7 separate regions of the Homo sapiens genome follow, and regions 1, 2, 3, 5, 6 and 7 are each linked to region 4. Evidence: promoter capture Hi-C in 16 types of primary human blood cells and fetal thymus (Javierre and others, 2016). All regions are on one chromosome and are shown on one strand. Each heading gives the region's core, a stretch centred on a gene start or on the middle of the fragment in contact. The rest is flanking DNA. Distances are from core to core; before and after follow the strand shown. Region 1 overlaps AGXT2 (alanine--glyoxylate aminotransferase 2). Region 2 overlaps PRLR (prolactin receptor). Region 3 has its middle 5.4 kb from the start of AGXT2. Region 4 holds the start of CAPSL (calcyphosine like). Region 5 has its middle 40 kb from the start of DNAJC21. Region 6 overlaps DNAJC21 (DnaJ heat shock protein family (Hsp40) member C21). Region 7 overlaps PRLR (prolactin receptor).

Region 1 (2,985 bases), core at 360-2,859, 910 kb before region 4:
AAATGACCACCTTTTAGTGCTTCCGTCTACTAGGCTCTGTGCTGGTGGTTTTGCAGTCAGACCAGGGTCTGGGAGGTGCATCAAACTGATTTTAGTTCTTGATGCCTTACAGATGCAATATTCAAATACGGCTTTACCAGGCATTGCTATGGTCTGTTTTTCTCTACAAAAGTTCTCCGTGCCTCATCTCATGAAGTGCCGTGATGGTGTTGGCAGCAGCCAGATATTGCTGTCTCTGTTTTACAAATGAGAAAACTGAAGCAAAAGGTGAAGCTTTTGCTCATAGCTGAACCATGCCAGGGCTGAGAGTGGAATCCATCTCTTGACTTCATGCAGCTCCTCAGTCCTGGCCTGTGGAATAGGAATGCTTTTTCAGCTTGGGTTTATCTTGACGGCACATCAGTGTGGATGAGGATGGCTATAGGAATTGGGAGCACTGGCTTTGGAGTCAGAAGACCTGGGGTAAAATCTTAGCTCTCCAGTCTCCTCCATGTGAAACTGGCTTTCCTGATGTTTAAAGTGGAGAGTTTGATTTATAGCTTTACATTTCCTTCTGGTTTTAAATTCCATGAGCGTGACATCTTGTCTTCTTTCACTACTTACTCTTTCATTCTCTTACCTCCATTTTGCTATTATGTCATCTGAATTTTAAGACGATGGTGAATTTTTTTCCTTTCAGAGCTGGTTTTTAAGACTTCTGTTTTGTATTTTTCCTCTCAACCCAGTGATTCATACTATTCCATTAAAAATCACTGGGCTGAAGCATTTAGTTATTTCCTTCAGAAGTACTAAGGAGCGGCTATTAAAAAGGTTGTGATGACAAATCAGAGGCAGGGCTTGTTGATTAGCAAGGAACAGATGATGTTTCCTGCCTCCTCTCCCTCCTGTTAAGCGTAGGTAAAGAATGCGAATAAAAATGTGATTGGTAAATGGAAGTTCTCCTTGTGAGAAAGCCTTTAAAACTTTTGCCAGGGTTGTCAGCAGCCTGTAGGAAGGGCAGCCTTGTGTTTTGTTTGACGGATGCTCTCATTTTGGCTGGCAGTCCCTGGAGAACTTTTTGACTGGAGTTTTGAGATTGCCAAAAGCATTATTTTCCCTCTTTCCACTGGTATGGGTTAATAATCCCACCCATCTTGATTTCTTGTTTTTTTTTTTTTTTTGGTTGTTGTTTAGTTTTTTCATTTTAGAGATGGGATCTTGCTTTTTTTTTTTTTTTTTTTTTTTTTTTGAGATGGAGTCTTGTTCTGTTGCCCAGGTTGGAGTGCAGTGGCGTTATCTCAGTTCACTGCAACCTCTGCCTCCCAGGTTCAAGTGATTCTTGAGCCTCAGCCTCCCGAGTAGCTGGGATTATAGGTGCACACTACCATGCCTAGCTAATTTTTGTATTTTTAATAGAGACACCATTTCACCATGTTGGCCAGCTGGTCTCAAACTCCCGACCTCAGGTGATCTGCCCGCCTCAACCTCCCAAAGTGCTGGGATTATAGCTGTCAGCCACCATGCCCCGCCGGGCCTTGCTCTTTCATGCAGGCTGGAGTGCAGTGGCATAATCATGAATCACTGCAGCCTCGACTTCCTCAGCTCAAGCAATCCTCCCACCTCAGCCTCCCGAGTAACTGGGACTACAGGCATGCCACCACGCCCAGCTTGTTGTCTTTTAAAATTGACACCAGAGCTATTGCTATTATAATAGAGCTAATAGAATGCCTTGAATCAAGTACCAGCTGATAGTCGTTTTTTTGAGCTTGGCTCTGATAGCGTGAGATGCTTTTCCTACATGGCCAGACAGATGGTCTGAGAGTGAAGTGATAGCAGACATAAGCGTTGATTCAATGAGGAATAACTTGGTTACTTTCCAGTTTTGCTTCCTCTGGCTTTTCCCTTTTCCATGTTTTCAAATTCAATTGTTCCCTCAGGGATGGGTCTGCCTTTATTCGTGTCCCTTCCAACTTCCAACACTCCACTGGCACCCCCCTTGCCCAGTCGGACCTGGTGCACAGCTGCACTTCCTGATTGTTTGCACTGGAGAATCTCGACAGTGGCTTCCTCCCCAAGGGCCACGAAAAACATCTGGACACATTGTCTGCAAATGACAAAAGAAGGAGTGTGGCAAAGCATGAACACAAGACAGCCAAGTTAGGGTAGCATATGGCTGCCATCAAGACAAGAGGGCTTCTTAGTTTTCCTCCCTCATTCTTCCCCCACTTAAGATGAAAATTGAAGGATCTGCTTTGAAGAGATAATTTTTTCTTAGAAATCAGCTATGTGGGCCCTCTACAAAGGAAACTGATTTCAATGTTAGCCTGGAAACAGCTTGCTCAAGGGTGCAGTGGGTAAGGGCATCTGAAAGAATAAGAATAATTAGGTATCTGATTCAGATGCTGAAAATGTGGGTACAGTAAGTGGGAACAGAAGGTGAGTACAGTGATGACTGCATAGAAGTTTTGTGCATTCAAGATTCTCAGAGCCTTGCAGTTTACTTGATTTTATTTAAAAGCAAAATACATTTTAAAACTCTGTCATTAATTATTACTCAGACTCGGAAGGCCTTTCTAATGGTGTCCTCAAGTGGTCTCCAATTCAATTAGGTCAAATTGAGCCCCTGATTAATGACAGGCTTTATATTAGTTTCTAATCCTTATACCAGGAAAACCTGATCAACTACTTCACATACCCAGCAGTCTTTAAAGAAACAAGAGAAAAATCTCCAAACTCACTGGTTGGCAACCTGTCCCACCAGGGAGTTCCATCTTGTAGGTCCCTACGTTTGTCAAGCCAAGTGTGTAAGGACTGCATCCATGGTAGGCTCCTCTGCAGAGAAGAAACAACAGGAGGATGGGGTCAAGTTCCTGGTCCACTGAGTAGGACAAAAGAGAAAACCCAGGAAGGCTATGAAGATGAAATAGAACATCATTCGCATTCACCTCTGATTTCTAAGAACGCATCTAAGCTTATGTCGGATCAATGTACTTAATAGTCTTTTCT
Region 2 (3,204 bases), core at 334-2,833, 820 kb before region 4:
GGGAGTGATGATTACCACTGGGACAGGACTGGAAAGTTAACAATTAAGTTAGAGAGACCAGACATCATATAAAAGGCTGCAAAATGGACTGCGGCACTTTGGGTCAAGTCTTGGACAGGAATTGCAATTTTACTCTTAACTTTTAATCCCCTCTTTTAAGGAGGGTCCCCCCCTCTGAATTCTTCTATGAATATTGCTTTCTGGATGTTCTTTTCACCCTGAAACTGAGCTGTGTTTCTGTTTCTCTTGGATGACCATGCAACTGCTTTCAAGTTCCTGCCTGTGATTTCACAGATAGCCACTGGAATCAGAAGTATCTTTGTAATCCAAACACCAGGTTGGGAAAGGGTGGAGGATGATGGAGGCTGGGTGCAGGGGTCAGGGAAGATCAATCAGAGGAATAAAAGGTCCATGAGGTGCACTTAAAGATGAATAGGAAGTGTGTGTACAAACCCTAGGGCTTTGGAATTTCCTTTTAGGGCCTTGGTTTGCCAATTGGTACCACAGATAAATCTGCTACTGCCACCTTATCTACTTTATACTATTTGGTTAATTTTTTTTAAAAAAGGATTTCTGGTTAAGCCACTCTTTAGAGTGGTGACCTGTTTGCTGTAAAAAGTTAAAATTATATAAAGTGAAGTGGAGAATATGTCTCAAATCTTTTGAGCAATAATGTTGTCTATGAATACATGTCTATGAATAATGAATACACACACAAATACAAAGTAGCGGCCAAATTTTCCGGGAGCTTTGCAACACAGCTCTGACTACTGGGTGCTTTCTGACCTCTTCAAACTCTTAAAGGAAAGGTCCACTCAGTACTCAGCATTGCCCTGTTCTCCTTCATTTGCCTTTCCTTCCAGTAAATAGCATGAGGCATTTGGCATGAAGGGGTAGAAGCCAAGACGGGAGAAAGCACAGAGAAGTCTGAATGGGTCGATTCACCACTTCCAATGTTACCAGATGCTCCTGGGCAGGGCTATTATGCTGTGGGGCACTCTTGTACCCAGAGCGTTTTGATGACTGATGACACTTCTTCTGCAAGTATTTGCTAATGTTATTGTGAACACTATAAATTTCAGTCGATTTCCATGAAAAACAAAAGCTTCTGCTGGGCTGAGGCAACTTAAAGCAGTGGTTTTTGGTAGGATAATTTTGTCCCCACCTGGAAGACATTTGGCAAAGCCTGGAAACATTATTTTATTGTTACTTCTGTTGGGGGGAGTTTTGTCCTCCTTGGAACTGTCTGGAGATGTCATTGGTTGTTAGAGCTGGGGTGGGGTGGTGTCCTTCTGGTATTTAGTGGGAGACACCAGGAATGCTGCTGAGCATCAAATGATGCACAGAGGAGCCCCACCACCCAAAACGATCCGACCCAGAATGCCTACACTGTTGTTTGAGAAACCCTGGCCCAGAGGGCAAGTTCAGGCTCAGAACTTGACACCAAAGCGGCATGATGGCTCTCAAGGGGCTATCATGTTTCAATGTGGGAAGACTAGTAAGTTTCCCTAGATGGCCCCAAGAAGTCCCAGGAAAATTTTGTCTAGGATTTTCTTCAACCAATAACTTCATTGTTTTCCTATCTTCCTGGCTCCTTAACTTCCTCTGAATGAGAGAGTACAGCCTCAAAGTCGTACATGTCGAGCTCATCTCAGTGGGTCCAGATCCCATTTGCCTGTAGTGTAGACAGAGGGAAGTCAGGGGGCTTGGTTTCTCCATCTGTAAAATGGAGTCGTAATACTTCATGATCTATTTGCTAAGCAGTCCTGGCAGCCTAGGGTTTCCTTGCCACTGGCAGATGAGAGAAGACCCAGAGCCTGTCACACATGAGTCCTGCCATGAGGGCTGGGAGGAAGGAGACACAGCAGTAACATTACGGGGCCCAGAAAGTTGTGGCAAGAATTTATGTAGAGTTGCTTAAGAAAATAAAAGCAAGCACAATATTTCTCTCTCTGATTATAGAAGTAACATAGTCATTGTCGATAATCTCTCAATTACAGAAAACTACAAGGAGAAAATAAAAATCTCTCATGATTGCACCACTAGGAGATATCAGCTATTAAAAGCTTTGGTATTTTCTTTGAGAAAAACAGAAAAGGATGAACATCAGTTTTTCTGAGCTGGACAGGCTGGGGAGACTGAAACAGCCTTTGAAGACAGCAGAATGTGCCAGTGTAGACATTGACTGGTTTGAGATGATATTCTGTAAACCAAGATAGTTGAGCCCCTGCCCTGGATGAAACGGACAGTGGGGCAGATGGGTGGTGTGACCGAGGGGCATGAGAACAAGTCCCCCTTACCTTCAGGGTTCATGTGGAAAGCATCCTCAGTGTTCGCCTCCATGAATAGGAGAGTTCTTTAGCTGAAAGAGGAAATGATTCATTTTAGCTCCAAGATGACAAAACGGGAGATTCCATTTCTGGCTCACTCTGCAGTACGTAGCATGGCTGAACATTGGCCCCTCAGTGATAGGCATGAGACAGCTCTAGTGTTCTGGAATTTGTTTTTTGGCAGCTTTATTTTGAAGTAATTTTAATCTTACAGAAAAGTTATAAAATAGTAAAAAAAAAAAAAAAATCTCATATACCCTCGACCCACATACCTCAATTGTTACTATTTTACCACATCTGATTTATAATCTTTCTTCTCTGTATATAAAAGTTACTTCCTAATTATTTGTGAACTAGTCACAGTCATGATGCATGTTTACCCCTAAATATTTCAGTGTGTTTTCCTAAGAACAAGGACAATTCTCCTACATAAATGTAGTACAATAATTAACGTAGGAAAATTAACATCGACACAGTATTATTACCTAATCTATAGAGCTTACTCAAATTTTGCCAGTTATCCTAGTTGGGATTAGATTTCATAAAATTTGGTCCTGGAGACTTTAATGAAATTTCTTAACAAATTCTGACATAGTTATAGATGAACTGGAATTCTGGGTTTTGTATAAGAACTTTCAGACTCTGGGGACTGACTAGCCTGAGTCTCGGAGGCATGAAGGGACAACTGTTAGAGGTATGGATCTTTTTTTTTTTTGACAGGGTCTTACTGTGTCTCCCAGGCTGGAGTGCAACGGCGCAATCACAGCTCACTGCAACTTCAACCTCCCCAGGCTCAGGTGATTCTCCCATTTCACCCGCCCCCTGCCCCAAGTAGCTGGGACTACAGGCACATGTCATTACACCTGGCGAAGTT
Region 3 (3,260 bases), core at 746-3,245, 880 kb before region 4:
TGAGAAGGAGAGAACTGTTTAGCCACCAAAAGGAAAATATTCTCAACCAGAAGAAAACAAAATCTAGCTTATGCTGTTTTTAAAAGACACACCTAAAACATAATGACACAGAACAATTAGGAAGTAAAGGAATGAAAAGAAACTTACCAGAGAATTACCACTCCCAGGAAAATCCAAATTAGCAATATCAGTATCAGAAAAAATAGGTTTTAAGACAAACGTGACCATTATAAATAAAGGGGATTGTATGTAACAATGAAAAGAATAATTTATTTGGAGGATTGAACATTTAAATCTATATACGCCCAATAATACAGCTTCAAAATATATAAAGCAAAAACTGATAGAATTATAATAAATAGAAACTTACTTAATCCTAGAAGATTTTAACTTACTTATAAATCACCTCCAAAAACGATATCTTAAGCAGCAAAAAAGATGAACCTCATTAATGCAAAAATCCTAAATAAAAGTTTAGCAAATTGAACCTAATAATGTTTGCAAAAATACTTCATGTATAAGTGAGGTTCATCTCAAGAATGCAAGGGTACTTTAACCTTAAAATATACTCTCTAAAATAATTTTCTGTAATAAGTTACACATTAATTAACAGAGAAAAGCCATGTGAACATATCAATAGATGTAGAAAAAAATTTGAGAAGTTTTAAAATCAGTTAAGATAAAAAATTGTTAGCAAACTAGAAATATAAAGGCATATCTTTCACATAACTAAGGGTATCTGAAAAATTGTAGGGGCCCAGCAGCAGTTCTCTTTGACCTGCTGCCCTCCTGTCTGGTCCCTCATTCTCTCCAGAGCCTGGCCATAGAAACTGGAATCTCACTTCCCCAAGGCAGGTCATGGAAACTGGAACCCTCTTGCCCCAAAGTCAGCTTTACAGTCTAAAAATATTACTATAACTTTACACCAGACTTTCTGTGTAAAAACTGACTGTAGATAACCTGACCTATCTTGTTTGACTGTAGGTCATAAGACCCCCTTTCCAGAGAGGGTCCTGCCCCATACCCAGAAGGAAGGAATGGTGAGAGGCATTCCTACACAGAGAGGCTAAGAAAAATCTAGACAGACAGGCCTTGCTAGGTTTTCTCACTCAGTCTGTCGGCATTAGGTCCAATCATTTTCCTACAAGGCTGTCCGTACTTTGTTGAAACTAAGCATAAAAATGGACAGTTTCCTCTGTATCTTTGGGTCTTCATTCTGAAGGCTCCCATGTCACATAAAACTATAATCAAATAAATTTGTATGCCTTTTCTCCTATTAATTCAACTTTTGTCAGTGACTTTTAGTGAACCCTCGGAGGGCAAAATGGCAGCTTTCCTTTCCCCTCTACAACACCTACATGATGCCTTATATGTAATAGTGAACTTTTCATAGCATTCTCACTAAAGTCAGGAAGAAGAAAGGATGCCCATAACACGTTTCTATTTAACACTGTCCTGGAAGCCCAATAAAATAGATCAAGAAAGAGACATAAGAGGTATAAAGACTGGAAAAGAAGAAACAGTGTTGTTAGCTTGTGGTGATACCGTTGTAAAAATTGAAAATCCAAGAAAACCTACAAATTATAAGAATGTTAATTAGAGTTCAGTAAGGTTACAGAATGCAAGATCAGTATTAAAACATCAGTGGGACTGGGCATGGTGGCTCACGCCTGTAATCTCAGCACTTTGGGAGGCCGAGGCCGGCGGATCACCTGAGGTCAGGAATTTGAGACCAACCTGCACAACATGGCAAAACCTCGTCTCTACTAAAAATGCCAAAATTAGCTGGGTGTGGTGGTGTGGGCCTGTAATCCTAGCTACTCGGGAGGCTGAGGCAGGAGAATCACTTAAACACGGGAGGTGGAGGTTGTAATGAGAGGGTACCTAGGGATGAATCTAATAAAACATATGCAAACATTTATAAAGAATAATGTAAAGTTTTATTGAAGCCCAATGTAAAGGAAATGATATACCATGTTCAAGATTAGGAGGCACAATATTATAAAGATGTAACTTCTGGCATTAAAACATAAATTCAATCTAGCTCCCAACACAATTTTTTAGGAGACCCGATAGGCTCATCTGAAAATTCATATGATGAGTAAATGGCCAAGAATGGCCACAACAATTTTGAAGAAGGGTATGGTGGTGTGAGAATTAATATACCAGATAACAAGACTTTGTATAAAATATGGTAATAAAACAGTGGAGCACCAGGACAGGAATAGATACACAGAAAAATGGGCCAGAAAAGCCTGGACTAACATTTGGGCATATGTAGACACTCAGAAGATGACAAAGATGGCATAAAAGATAAGCAGGAAAAGGATGAGTTACTCAGATACAAATGGATTCATCAGGGAAATAAAAAGTAAAATAACAATGCATCATTTTATGCTCATTGAATTGTCAAACATTAAAATATCTGACTGCATCAGGTAGTGATAAAGATGACGAGAAATGGAAATACTACACTGATGGCAAGGGTACACATCAGTAAAACTGCTTTGGAGAGGAAGCAATTTGTCAGCATCTAGGAAATATTAAGATATGCATTTTACATGACCCAACAATTCCACCTCTAGGTGTATATTTTGGAGAAACTTTTGCACATATTCCAGTGAGACTGGCATAGGAATGCTCATTGCATAGTCATTTATGGCAGTGAAAATCAAATGTTGCTAAATAGGGGGATTAATAAATAGTATATATGTGTAAAATTATAGCAGTGGTATACACACAACTTTTGTCATTTATGGCAATGAAAATTAAATGCTGATAAATAGGGAGATTAATAAATTATATGTATATGTACAATTACAGCAGCTATATGCATAAAGCAGTGAAAATTAGATGTAGATAAATAGGGAGATTAATAAACTGTATATGTGTATACAACCACAGCAGTTGTATGCATAAAGCAGTGAAAATTAAATGTTGATGAATAGGGAGTTTAATAGATTGTATAGATGTATAAAACTAAGCAGCTGGAGCTATTTGTATCTCAAAAACCCAATGCCGAATGAAAGAAAATCAAAGTGCATAAAGATATCTGCTATTTTTTATGCAAAACTCATAAATACCAAAGTAATTGGTCATATTATTTAGGGATAGATAAATATGAGGTGAATGCATTTTAAAAATAGCTGGGAAGGATATGTAATAACTTTAGGATTGTAGTTACTGCTGAAGAGAGAGGTAGAGAATTTGGTTGTTGAGGGATGTAAATACAGCATCTGTGATATTAAATGAATCTTTGT
Region 4 (3,173 bases), core at 95-2,594:
TCCCCCATTGCATACAGGTAAAATGAAAGTTCTTAGCATTGAATTCATGCATTGGCCTTTCCTATGTCTCCAGCCATTTCTAGTAATTCTCCATCCGTTCAAAATCTATCCTGCATCTCTACTCACTCACATTCCCCAAACACACCATAGCATTCTGTATCTCTGTGCCTTTGTACATGTAGTCACACTTGCAGGTACACCTTCTTTTTCCTGTTGGCCCAGAGAAGTCCCACCCATCCTTCCATGATCATGTGGTGAAGTCCAAATAGCATTCACATTGCAAGACAATGTAATTCGTTTTCGAATTACTTGCCCTGCTAGACAGACTATAAGGTCCTTACGAGGTAGAGCTGTATCCTTTGCATTTACTATCACCATATCATCAGGGCTTAGCAGGAGGCTATTTTATTGCTATTAGAATTTATCATTGTCATTGCTATTGGGTAATTTTTATCAGAATATAAATACAAATGTATGCCTGAAATTCAAATCTCAATATTTAAAACTTTCAATAACAAAATAGATTTTTGTGGTTGTAGGATTTGAGGAAAAAATAAGTCAAAAAAAAAAAACAGGTAAGAATTTCATCTACTTAATATGGTTTAAATACTCCCCAGACTGAAGGCAATAGAGATGGCTGCCTGGGTCATTGGTGTTGTCCTTTAATGAGAACGTAAAGGACCCCCTCAAGTCTCTGATGAATCAAATCAACTATTTGATATAATTTTGAACAAGCCATGTATGTACACTTTAATAAGCATCCTGATTTTTATTCTGATTCTCAGTTGTCAGTGTATAGCAGAAATAGCATAAGTTTAAGTATCAGACAAAGCAAGGTCTGAATGAAAGTTGAAATGTTTTATTGCTTTGTGACTTGGAAATGCTGAACCTCCCTGAAGCTCAGTTTTATCAGTGGTCATCAGGATCGTTAGAGCAATTCACCCAAACCCTTCACACTCAAATACCTAGTACCTAATGACTGCTCAGTAATGTTTACTTCCTTCCCCTTTACTGAATGAAATTTATTTTTGTGCATTTTTATCTAAGCATTTTTTTTGCAAAGATTACAAAAATCTTTCCCAGTACCAAGCTCTTTCCTCTTGCACTGACAGCCTAGTGATGGCTTCTCTAGTCCAAGAACTCTCAAAAGACTTTTAGATTTTCTTTTTAGAGAGTAACATCTACTGTCTTCTTTTCTCAGCTAAGACATACCAAGAAAAAAAAAAACATTAAATCATAGAATAGATAAAAACATTGATTTACCTTAAATGCTAACCTTTTGCCACCAGTTGCTTCGAACTGAAACTATGGACGCTGTCTCCTGCATCTAGGAAAACTGGTCCCTCCCAAGCCACCTTAGCCTCCTCCCTCTTACCTGTCTTCCTCAGGGGCCCTGGTCCACTCTCTTAGTATTAATTGGAGGACCTGGGATCACTGCTGCAGATTCACAGCCTGATTGGCTCAGCTCACTGTCAATCTCTACTCTGGTTCTGCCTTTTCTCAAGTTTACACTCCTGTTGCCTAGGAAATCTCAGTGACTGTGAAAGCTCAAGCCATTTGCACTGGGAGAGAAGCCAGCCAGAAGTTTTGCTGGCAATGGTTTGGTTTCTAGAACAGCATCAAAACTTGTCTCCCATGTTTTGTAAGGTAGTATTCAGCACATTGTCTTCTTTCTTTTAGGCAGCACCTTCCTGTCCTTCTGTAGTCCCCAGAAAGCTTACTGCTAGGGTGCCTCATTGCCAGGTGATACTTAAAACCACAACTCTTGGGAGCAGGCAGGGGTAATTATAGGTGATTCAAGGTTCTCCCTCCTTCTCTGCATTTGCAGAGGATGTCATTTCTGCTGTTTTCATCCTTGGTTTCTTCTCTTCTTTTCTCTTTTTGTTTCTTTTTACTTATGTTTTTCACATGTTCCCTAGCAGTTACTTTGCCAGATAAGAAGAAATCTAGTGGCTTATTTGGAGGAAAATATCTACACTATGCTCTCTTTCATTGTGTATCTATGACATCCACCCTATCCTTGTCATTCCCACTCCTGCACGTCCTGCTTTCAGGAGCAGGCAGGTATAATTAGTGGTGATTCAGACCTTACACCTCTCTCTTTCTCTCTCTCTCTCTGACACACACACACACACACACACACACACACACACACACACACACACACATCTCTGTATATAACATAATCCTGGCTGTGTGCAACATCCTTGCAGTATAAGAACTCACAAAACGGAATAGATGCCAGGCACCCAGCTCTGCAGACTACTAGGCAAGTTCTTTCATGGATTTGACAAGGGCTTGGGTCCTTTGCTATATCTGCAGGGAGTATACATAGTAGCTATTTCATCCTTTTATCTGAATTGTCTGAAGAATTGTCCCAGAATTAAGCAATTAGAACTGTGGTTCTTCCAGGGCAACCTCAGATGTCTAATGTTTTCTTTTCAGTGGTTTAACCCACAAGATATCACGCATTTGAAACTTTTAAGAAGAAACTTAATTTCATCTGTGAATGCAGAAGCAAATATGAGGGCATGGGCATTTAAATATGAAGTATTTCTTGAAAGCCACCTACTGGAGAGTAAGTTTGGTGCAATAATTTAAGAAAAGATAAAAAAGAAACAGGAAAATTGGGACAACGGACAGCATGATGGAGCCACCGTGCAAGCCCTCAATAGTCTGCCTCCAGGTTGTGTCAAATAAAGTAAAAAGAACAAAATCTCTGGAGTACTTAAGCAATGCTTTTGCTTGTTTCCACTGCTAGCAACTGGTGTAATTCCAAGGGTTTTACCAGTTCAAAAAACTGGATCTGGGTTTGTGGTATTGGGTTTCTGACAATCAATATAAAATATTGATTATATTTTAAGGCATAAGTACTCTTTCCAGTGGTAAAGAAGACAATGATAGTCTATGGTGTAATACGGTAAAAAGATTTGTAAAATATTACTACTGGATTCCTAATCAAATATTCATAAATGGCAAATCTCTAGGTAATCATGATAGCTTAAAATATTTTAGTCAAACTAATAAATGTAATGAGGATGACTGCTTGTAACTGTGGTAGACAAAGTAAAGAAAAATGATGAACTCAGGGCTTGAAATTCCAAGTTCAAGCTCCACATAAATGATCTGAAACCTTCTATGTCTTCCTGGAGGAACGTACTTATCTCCCATTG
Region 5 (3,130 bases), core at 267-2,766, 970 kb before region 4:
CCAAAACAAAAAAACAAAACAAAACAAAAAAAACTCTGATCCCTGAATGCTCAGGCAGACTGATGTGAATAATATAGTAAAAAAAACTCTGGACTCTTGTACAGCCAGCTCGGCATGAATAACTCTTTGTCTATTGCAATCCCTCTGTCTTGATAAATTGGCTCTGTCTAGGCAGCAGGCAAGGTAAATCCATTAAGTGGTTACAGTATTGCTGGAGGACAACCCTTGGACCCTCATACAGTGCATGCACATGCCAGCAGTGGCAGTGGTGGCCTTGGTGGGCTAGTGTCCAGCACATGGAGGTACTGGTGGCAGTTGGGGTGGGTCCATCCTGGATAGTGCATGCATGTGCTGGTGGCGGTGGGTAGGGTAGGACTATCCTCAGGCCTCCAGACAGTAGGTACAGGTGGTGGCAGTGAGCAGGAGGAGCTGGTCTGTAGGCCCCTGGAAGGTGTGCATGGGCGCTGGTGGGTGGCAAGCAAGGCAGATTGATCTCCAGGTCCCCCAGTGGCATGCATGGAGACTGGCTCTAAAAGGGTTTTAATCACAGCACTTTTTTTGTAAAAGAAAAATATTCTAAATAACCTAAATACCCATGGATAGCTAATAAGTTATGATACAGCTACAAAATGATTTGCAAGATATAGTATTAAGGTAAAAAAAAGCAGGATGTATTTGTGTAATATGGTGGTCGAAGGACCACTAACAGTGACTATCCATGGTGAGGTAAACTGGGTGATGGAGAGAAGAGATAAGGGCTGGAGACTCTTTTGCTATATCACCTTTTGTGCTTTTGGAATTTCATACCAGCTTCACATATTGGTTATTTCTAGAATTTTATTATTGTGGTAGGCAAAATTTAAAAATTCCCCTCACCTGAGAGTTCTTGTCCTGGAACTCAAAAATATGATTAAAATATCACCCCTCTAATTGTTACGTTATATGGCACAGTTGACCTTAAATGGGAAATTACCTGGAAGACCCATGTAGGCCCTGCAAGTGGGCTTTGAGTCATGTGGGCAGGCAATTCTGGGGTTCTGGGTATCTGGATTATGGTCTAAACCACAGGGCTTTGTGGATTCCTTGTTCCCTAGGAAGGGACATGGCAAAAGGAAGGCTAAGTGGGGGCTCTGGAGGAGGCAAAATTTCCCTTTCCTCTTAGGCTCTCTGGCTAGGCTTGAGAATTAAATTGACATAAGATAGATGAATAACAGAAAAGCATACATACTTTATTTAGTAATTTTTACTTGTACATGGGAGCCCTCACAAGAAAAACGAAACTCAAAGGAGCAATTAGGGCTGAAAGCTTACCTAACAGGCTGGACAAAGAATAGTAAAGTTTGAAAACATGACAAAGAGGTTTGGGGTAGAACACTTAATTGTGGAAAAGTGGCTAGGCAGATAAGGGTTAGTTTAATAAGGTTTTTTGGTACCCGTTTCTCTCTCAGCTTTGACACCCCATCTCTGAGAATAAGAGTGTCTTCCTTCCTCCTGGTCAGGGAGGGTACCTTTCACATGAGAGTTTTATCTCTTGCTTTGAGGAAGAAAAAGGAAGATCAGAATGCCATTCTTGCACCTGCTGTTTCTTAAGTGCCTTTAACTCAAAGTAATAGATATGCCAAAATGGCACATTTTGGGGTGGCATGCTCTTTATCCCTACAAAGCCCGGTCAGGGACCCTGCTACCTGAGCTTTAGGGCAATAGTGTTTACATGACTTCTTTTCCATGAAGCTTTCCTAATATCTCCTCAGCCTGAGTAAGTTTTTCCTCCCCTGAACTCCTTTATCACTTAATTCTTACCATATGTTGCCTCAGGAAGAAGACATTGAAGCTTTTAGAAGGATAAACTCTACTCATGAATAGTTGCATCTCAGGAACAGGAGTAGAAGGGGTAGACAACATGTGTTGTAAATTTCAAAACAAACTTTCAAAAAGCATACATTGCTTCCCATTGTCAGGAAATGTTTCATATGTGTAAGTCACGACTTCTGTACTAGACTGTAAGCTTCTGAGGACAGCAGCATATTGAATCCTTGTATCTACTATAGGACCTAATATGTGTATAAGGATGCTTAATGAATATTCATGAAGTGTATGTGAGTAAGTCAACCTGAGACAGAGAATTCTATCTGCATCTGTGTCAAATAGTATGTTTTTGATGCAAGAAACAAAATTTCTAATGAACTTAGTTAATAAGGAAGTATATTATCTCCCAAAACAGTTAAAAGAAATTGTGCAGGCTCTGGAAACAATCCATGGGGGCTCCAGTTCCATTTGTCTGCTAATATATTTGTCTTCCCTATCTCCTGTGCTATCTTTGTCCTCAGGCAGCCTTCCCTCATGGTCAAAAAATGGATGCCAATATCAACTGGGACAGAATATTGTCCTCTCACACTGTCAGGAGGGGGCTTTGGAGTGGGGGGCTCAGAAAAAGAGAGAGAGAGGGAGGGAAGGAGAGAGAGAGGAAAAACCCTCTTCACCCATCATGAAAAGTCCCTCCTTTCAGTCTGAAAGGGCCAACTTGAGTCACAGGGCCTTTGAAACCTGTAGCCATGGGAATGCCCCAGGAGGACTGACTTCCCACAAGTGGGATGGCATTGCTATAATTGGCTTAGAGTATCCAGGAACCTACCCTGGAGTTGGGGATGGAGTTAGCTTTTCCTGAGTCACTTGGGGAACACTGAGCCAAATCCCAGATCTCTTAGCAAGAAACCTGAGCAAAATCTCGTTATCTTAGGAAGGAGGAAGCAGGAGAGTGGACGCTGGGAAGGGAACCATTAGGGTAAACAACACCATCTAAGAGAGATTAGTCTCCCTCCTTTGCTTCCTTTCTTACCTGCCCTAACCTGGATCTCCCAGGATAAAGAACTAGGACCTTATCTTAGCTTCAGTAAAAGGGCTGTTTTATTATGGTGGCCAAGAGAAATGAGGGGGACTCCAGGAGACAAGGAGAGGCTTTGTAGATAAACCCTTTCAAGGCTACAAAGTAAAAAGAGAATCACTAGAGGAAAGTTCCTGAATTTTTAGGCAGGAGATTAGGTGGTATCCTTGGTAACAAATGAATCAAGTGAATTCTGCAGAACAGGGGATGTTGAATGTAGAATCTGAGCATTCCCACCCTTAGGTTTTT
Region 6 (3,267 bases), core at 397-2,896, 990 kb before region 4:
GAAGTGCTCAAAAACTGATGGGGATACGTTAGAAGTACTCAAGATCCAGCTTGCGGGGCCTGCCAGTTAGGGAAAACTTGAGTCATCAAAAGGAATAAGGGTAATAGATCTTCATACATTGCATTTGTTAAAAAGAAATTTATGTATCTATATTGACTTTTAAAATAGTGAGAGCTGGCCAGGTGCGGTGGCTCACGCCTGTAATCCCAGAACTTTGGGAGGCCAAGGCGGGTGGATCACAAAGTCAGGAGTTCAAGATCAGCTTGGCCAACATAGTGAAACCCCATCTCTACTAAAAATACAAAAATTAGCCGGGCGTGGTGCCATGCGCCTGTAATTCCAGCTACTCAGGAGCCTGAGGCAGGAGAATCGTTGGAACCTGGGAGGCTGAGGTTGCAGTGAGCTGAGATCACGCCACTGCACTCCAGCCTGGGCAACAGAGCAAGACTGTCTCAAAAAAAAAAAAGTTGGAGAAAGGAGATAGGAAAGCTTTATTATTACAGAAAAATATTAATTAGTACAAGTGCAAATGACACAAGTAATAGAGGGAGAAAATCACTCTTCTACATCCACCAGTATATAAATGTTTCAGGCAAGAATCATTAATAGATGCCAAGTATATTCGGTAAATGGTCATGGGGACAGGATATTCACACAGTCTCAGAGTCACACTCTGCAGATTACTTATTAATTTAAAAAGGGAAAACATACTTTACAGTTGAAAAATCTGGCAATACCACCCTAACCAAATGATCAAACTTAATAATATCACTGAAAAATGACAAACTCATTTTGCTTCCCGGGATTATAGTATTATGCTAGAAATGTTTAACCTGAATCTGATCATTTGGAAACAACCAAACAAAGCCAGATTATGGGACACTCTACAAAACATCAAATTGTCAACATCATGAAAGACAAAAAAAAAGTGGGGGAGCTGCTCTAGAATAAAGGAGATTAAAGGTACCTGACAACTAAATGCAACATGTGATCCTTGATTACACCCCCTATCCTGTATATCCCTATACAGGAAAAGGAGTAATTGGTAAATTTGAATGTGGGTTGTGTAACAGATAATATTAGCATTAGATTCTTGAGTGTGAGTATTGTGCCAGAGAATGTTTTGATTCTTAGGATGTACCTGGCAAAGATTCATATCTGCCTGCAGCTCACTTTCAGATGGCTTGGGGAAAAAAGTGTGTGTTGGGAGAGAGAAGAGATGGAGAGAGCGAGCACAAATGTGCCAAAATGTTGCTTGAAAACAGACAGGTACGCTTAGGATATGTTTGCCAGGCGTCTTTCTTTTATAATGCCTGTTTGTTGTTGCCATTGTTTGTGACTGTAGAAGAATAGTTGCTCATTGCTTATCATTTGGAATATGGAAAAGTATCATCCTTAATTTTACCTGTAGAGATTACTTAATAAAGAATTAAATTGTGATTACACTATGTATAATTTTCTTTCTTCTACTTTTGCTAATATGTTGTAAGTATTTTTTCACATAATTGAGTATCTTTGGAAACATGATACTTAAGCACTTCAGAATTTTTCTTCATATATTCAGCCATTCACTTTTTGAACATTTGGATTCTTTTCAGATTTCCCTTAATTTACTATCACTGTAATGAGCATCCATGTTCTTAACTTACCTGCTTCTCCTTTTTATTTCCCGAAGGTATATAACTATTTGGCAACATAACATAAAAAGCTAGTAGTAGTATTATATTTATTTTGTAACGGCACATATGTTTTATTACCTAGAATTATGATGACAATTTCAATGTAAATGGACCTGGAGAAGGAGTAAAGGTTGATCCAGAAGATACTAACTTAAATCAAGACAGTGCCAAAGAATTGGAAGATAGTCCCCAGGAAAATGTCAGTGTCACAGAGATCATTAAACCATGTGATGATCCAAAAAGTGAAGCTAAAAGGTAAGTCAAAGTTGCATATTATTTGTAAATTACTGAATATTGATAGTAAGGATGTAGCTTTTCATATATCAAATAAAATCTTCTTTCCCATGACTGACCAGGTAATTTAGATGTATCTGTACATATTTATGTATAGATACACACACACATATGTATACAGATGAAGAGCGTTGAGAAGAGGATGCTAGAGGAATGTGCCCACACACATCTCAGCAGCATGGCCAAAATCAGAAAGATGTCACTTTGATCCAGTTCTTGTTTACCTTATCCTGCTGTGGCGCTGATTTTGTCGTGGATCATTAACACTTGACACTCACATGAGAACAAGACTCCTGCTGCGTCCCTGGAGTGTCACTAAGCAAATCTCCATGCTCACGACAGCAGCCTGTGTTGGGCCCCACCATGTTGTGAGGACACATGGCAGCAGCTGGGGCCCTTCCTGCTCAGAGGAGCCCTGGACTCTTGGTGCTGCACAAGGCCATGGTGTGGACTAGGAGGAGGTCTCACCCAAGGGAGGTAGCCAGTCCTGTTCTCTCCTTCCTCCTCTTGTCTGACTTTCTTTTCCCCATCCTCCTCGGTTCCTCTAGAACAGAGAATCATTTCTTATTTCTTGAGGAAAGATCTGATAGTGAGGAGCTTCAAGTTTCTGTCATTACAGAACCCTGAAAAGAATTAAAGTGAGAGAGCAAAGTGGGAGCATGACGTGAAAATGCTAACACTGGAGCAACAGTGATGGGGTGGGGAGTGTGTGTACTTCGGAGTTTAAGGCACTTAGTAGTAGGAAGGAGGAAACAGATGTGGGTGAGACCTACAGTATGACTCTGGCTATAGAAAAAGGTATATAAAGAACTACACAAACTGGTAATGTTGAAGCTTTGAAGAACTTTGGAGAGTTGAAGCCTAGAAAGGGAAATTCACATGTATTTCACTCTGACACCAGGTGTTTGTTCCCTTTCTACAAATGGGGAAACTGAATTTCAGGTTAATTGTCCAAGGACAAAAGCTATTGAGTAGAAAGGCTGACACTTCATTCCATCTGCCTGACAACTTGAAGGCACCCAGATCATCTGACTCCATGGAGCCTGTGTGTCCTGTGGGATGGGCACAAAGAGTGGGCCAGGAGGTGGGGCTCTGGGCCCCTGAACCCCTTTTTCATCTAAAACTAAAATGTTTTCCATGTTACTTCTTTTTTTTTTTTTTTTGGAGATGGAGTCTCGCTCTGTTGCCCAGGCTGGAGTACAGTGGCGCAACCTCGGCTCACTGCAACCTCCGCCTCCTGGGTTCAAGCAATTCTCCTGCCTCAGCCTCTCGAGTTGCTGGGACTGCAGGCATG
Region 7 (3,321 bases), core at 502-3,001, 840 kb before region 4:
AGGGGCCCAAAGACTTGAAAGGTATTCTAATTCAACCCCTCACTTTAACACATGGGGAAACTGAGGCCTGGAAAAATGAAGTGCCTTGGCCAAATGCCTTGTGGGAGAATCTTTGGAGCTTGAGGATGGGCACAACTGAGAACACTGACAAGTCTAAGAAAAAACTCTCAAGAATGTTGCTAAATGTATTTTCCCACTCTTATTCCTGCTTTCCCTACCCTCTCAGAACCTTGGAATACATTCATAGGAATAGTAAAAACATCAGATGTCCATCAGAATTTGGTTTTCTTTTCCTTTCTGGCCACACAGTTAAAGTTACTTCATTGCTTCCCCTGTCGTTAGATGAGGTCAGGTGATGAAGTGGTGGCCTCTGAAAGTGGGTAGAAATAACACACAGTAACGCACTGAATGACAAACTTTGCCCACTGTAGACTGCATATATGGTGGTGGTCCTATAAGATGACAATGGGGCTGAAAAGTTCCTATTGCCTAGTGATGTCAGGGCCATTCTAACATCGTAACGTAATGCTTTACGCCGTGTTTGTGGTGACACTGGTGTAAACAAATCTACTGCACTGCTAGTCGTATAAAAGTAGAGCGCATACAATTATGTGCAGTATATATACTTGATAATAACTATGTTACTGGTTTGTGTATTTACTATACTATACTTTTTATTGTTATTTTACAGTGTACTCCTTCTACTTATTAAAAAAAGTTAACTGTAAAATAGCCTCAGGCAGATCCTTCAGGAGGTATTCCAGAAGGCATTGTTGTCATGAGCTGACAGCTCCGTGCATGCTATCATCCTTGAGGAACTTCAAGTGGGACAAGATGTGGAGGTGAAAGACAGCAATAGGGACGATCCAGACACTATGTAGTTCTAGGCTAATGTGAATGTTTGTGTCTTAGTTTTTAATGAAAAAGTTTAAAAAGTAAAACAAAAAAACTTTTAAAAATAGAAAAAAGTTTATAGTATAAGCATATAAAGAAGGAAAATGTTTCTGTACAGCTGAACAATGTGTTTGTGTTTTAAGCCAAGTATTATTACAAAATAGTCAAGGCCAGGCACGGTGGTTCACGCCTGTAATCCCGGCACTTTGGGAGGCTGAAGCGGGCAGATCATGAGGTCAGGAGTTTGAGACTAGCCTGGCCAACATGGTGAAACCCCGTCTCTACTAAAACTACAAAAAAAATTAGCTGGGCCTGGTGGCTGGCATCTGTAATCCCAGCTACTTGGGAGGCTGGGGCAGGAGAATCATTTGAACCTGGGAGGCGGAGTTTGCAGTGAGCCGAGATTTGCAGCGAGCCATTGCACTGCAGCCTGGGCGACAGGGCGAGACTCTGTCTCAAAAAAAAAAAAAAAAAAAGTCAAAATGAGTTTAAGAAAGTTTATAAAGTTAAGTTACAGCAAGCTAAGGTTAATTTATTACTGAAGAAAAAAATTTAAAAAAAATTTGGTGTAGCTTAAGTGTACAGTGTATATAAAGTCCACAGTAGTGTACAGTAATGACCCAGGGCTTCACATTCAGTCGCCACTCATTCACTGACTCACCCAAAGCAACTCCCAGTCCTGCAAGCTTTATTCATGGTAAGTACCCTTTACAGGTGTACCATTTTAAAAAATCTTTTATACTGTGTTTTTACTATACCTTTCCTATGTTTAGATACACAAATACTTACCATTGTGTTACAATTGCATGTAGTATTCGGTAAAGTAAAATGTTGTATACGATTGTAACCTAGGAGCAATAGGCTATCCCATATAGCCTAGGTGTGCAGCAGATTATCCCATCTAGGTTTGTGTAAGTACACTTTATGATGTTCAAGCAACAACAAGATAACCTAAGGATGCATTTCTCAAAAAGTATCCCCATTGTCAAGCGATGCATGACTGTACTTCTAGCCTAGTCCTGGTCTTTAAAGCTTTTTACATATTCCCCCCTCTATTTCTCTCTCCTCCATTACTGGCCTGAAGAAGATGAAATTGAGGACTGTGAGGTCCTAAAAGCTCAGTACAGCCAACAGATGAAAGGCTCTTGAGTTCATGCTGACCACCAGCAAACTGTCACATGGGTGAGAAATAAACCTTTGGCTGTTGTGCTCTGAGCTAAGAGGCTGGGTGTTATAATGGCTAGCTTTATTTAGTTGGGCAAATCTAGGGACAATCCAGAGACAACCAGTACAGCCTACTGCAGATGGTAACTACTACATTTAACCAAGTAGAAGAGCAGTGATTAAGACGGAAGCCTCCAACGCCTGACCCACTGCCATTGTCCCGTCTGGAATACCATCATCAAAGTTCCAGAACAATCTCAGTTTGGCTTCATCTACATATTCAGCCCCCTACACTGTCACCTGTAAACATGTCTACAGGTGTTCAACAACACCTGTTGGGTGACTATTTTTATAAAGTCATATAGAATGCAGTATTCTCATGTACAGATCCACGGAAACAGCACTTGGCCTTGAGTTGTGCAACTCTTTTCCATTAATCAACAGGCTCTCCATATTCCTAAGGGATAGGTTCTGAGACCTTCTTGATTCCTCCAGTAACCTCTTTGTGTGCATTAATTTGAACTCAAGGGCAGATGGATGATGAAGCCCACTGAGATGTGGCTGCAAGGTGGTTGGGTTAGTAGCTGAAGTGAATAAAAATCGCAATATCAGAAATCAAGGAAATGTGGAGACTTCAAGAACTGGGACAACCTCCATTGTGAAATCTTCAACTAGCAAGGCAATAATAATTCTCAGCCCATTCTTCCTTTTCCTTCATAAATGCACACAATTAAAACATATTTTTCTGGCATCATCATGTCTAAATATCTAAAGCACACCCTTTCAGGAATGAAAACACATATATATATAAAAACATACATATATAAATATAAAACATATATAAAACATATATATAACATATATACATATAAAACATAAATATACCTTATAAAACATATATATAACTTATAAATAACATATATATGTTTTATATATTATATATATATATATTTTTGAGATGGACTCTTGCTCTGTCACCCAGGCTGGAGTACAGTGGCGCAATCTCGGCTTTCTGTAACCTTTGCCTCCCAGGTTCAAATGATTCTCCTGCCTCAATCTCTGGAGTAGCTGGGATTACAGGTGCGTGCCACCATGCCCAGCTAATTTTTTTGTTTTTTTAGTAGAGACAGGGTTTCACCCTGTTGGCCGGGGTGGTCTCCATCTCTTGACCTCGTGATCTACCCGCCTCGGCCTCCCAAAGTGCCGTGATTACAGACGTGAGCCACCACGCCCGGCCAAACTTTTAATCTATTGGGTGCACAC

The links. Contacts are between HindIII fragments. The CHiCAGO score rates a contact against its expected background, and 5 or more counts as called.
Region 1: a contact is called between a fragment that was not itself captured here and the fragment with the promoter of CAPSL in region 4, in 1 of 17 cell types (monocytes). The highest score is 6.4, in monocytes.
Region 2: a contact is called between a fragment that was not itself captured here and the fragment with the promoter of CAPSL in region 4, in 5 of 17 cell types (total CD8 T cells, naive CD8 T cells, naive CD4 T cells and 2 more). The highest score is 8.1, in total CD8 T cells.
Region 3: a contact is called between a fragment that was not itself captured here and the fragment with the promoter of CAPSL in region 4, in 5 of 17 cell types (naive CD8 T cells, M0 macrophages, naive CD4 T cells and 2 more). The highest score is 6.7, in naive CD8 T cells.
Region 5: a contact is called between a fragment that was not itself captured here and the fragment with the promoter of CAPSL in region 4, in 2 of 17 cell types (naive CD8 T cells and naive CD4 T cells). The highest score is 6.6, in naive CD8 T cells.
Region 6: a fragment that was not itself captured here is called in contact with the fragment with the promoter of CAPSL in region 4 in 1 of 17 cell types (naive CD4 T cells); the score reaches 6.5 in naive CD4 T cells.
Region 7: a fragment that was not itself captured here is called in contact with the fragment with the promoter of CAPSL in region 4 in 14 of 17 cell types (total CD8 T cells, naive CD8 T cells, naive CD4 T cells and 11 more); the score reaches 18.9 in total CD8 T cells.

The regions. Positions count from the first base shown.
Region 1 is chr5:35,030,743-35,033,727 of GRCh38, forward strand. AGXT2 (alanine--glyoxylate aminotransferase 2) reads right to left here. Exons shown (of 14, transcript NM_031900.4): 6 at 2,718-2,811; 7 at 1,990-2,083. Among named protein-coding and RNA genes, the nearest start is that of AGXT2, 16 kb to the right of the region's middle. The HindIII fragment of the contact is 2,677 bases long and covers 272-2,948 here.
Region 2 is chr5:35,115,761-35,118,964 of GRCh38, forward strand. It overlaps PRLR (prolactin receptor), which reads right to left. Exons shown (of 10, transcript NM_000949.7): 2 at 2,301-2,362. Among named protein-coding and RNA genes, the nearest start is that of AGXT2, 69 kb to the left of the region's middle. RefSeq lists an enhancer at 1,682-2,881. The HindIII fragment of the contact is 961 bases long and covers 1,104-2,064 here.
Region 3 is chr5:35,051,723-35,054,982 of GRCh38, forward strand. It overlaps a transcript of PRLR not described here. Among named protein-coding and RNA genes, the nearest start is that of AGXT2, 5.4 kb to the left of the region's middle. The HindIII fragment of the contact is 4,296 bases long and covers 1-3,260 here.
Region 4 is chr5:35,937,278-35,940,450 of GRCh38, forward strand. CAPSL (calcyphosine like) reads right to left here and starts at 1,345. Exons shown (of 5, transcript NM_001042625.2): 1 at 1,264-1,345. It overlaps CAPSL-DT (CAPSL divergent transcript), which reads left to right and starts at 1,524. Exons shown (of 2, transcript NR_104630.1): 1 at 1,524-1,647; 2 at 2,446-2,716. The HindIII fragment of the contact is 5,426 bases long and covers 1-1,714 here.
Region 5 is chr5:34,968,224-34,971,353 of GRCh38, forward strand. No RefSeq gene overlaps it. Among named protein-coding and RNA genes, the nearest start is that of DNAJC21, 40 kb to the left of the region's middle. The HindIII fragment of the contact is 425 bases long and covers 1,305-1,729 here.
Region 6 is chr5:34,948,409-34,951,675 of GRCh38, forward strand. It overlaps DNAJC21 (DnaJ heat shock protein family (Hsp40) member C21), which reads left to right. Exons shown (of 12, transcript NM_001012339.3): 10 at 1,762-1,934. Among named protein-coding and RNA genes, the nearest start is that of DNAJC21, 20 kb to the left of the region's middle. The HindIII fragment of the contact is 2,318 bases long and covers 488-2,805 here.
Region 7 is chr5:35,098,833-35,102,153 of GRCh38, forward strand. The region is part of intron 2 of PRLR (prolactin receptor); the gene reads right to left. Among named protein-coding and RNA genes, the nearest start is that of AGXT2, 53 kb to the left of the region's middle. The HindIII fragment of the contact is 346 bases long and covers 1,579-1,924 here.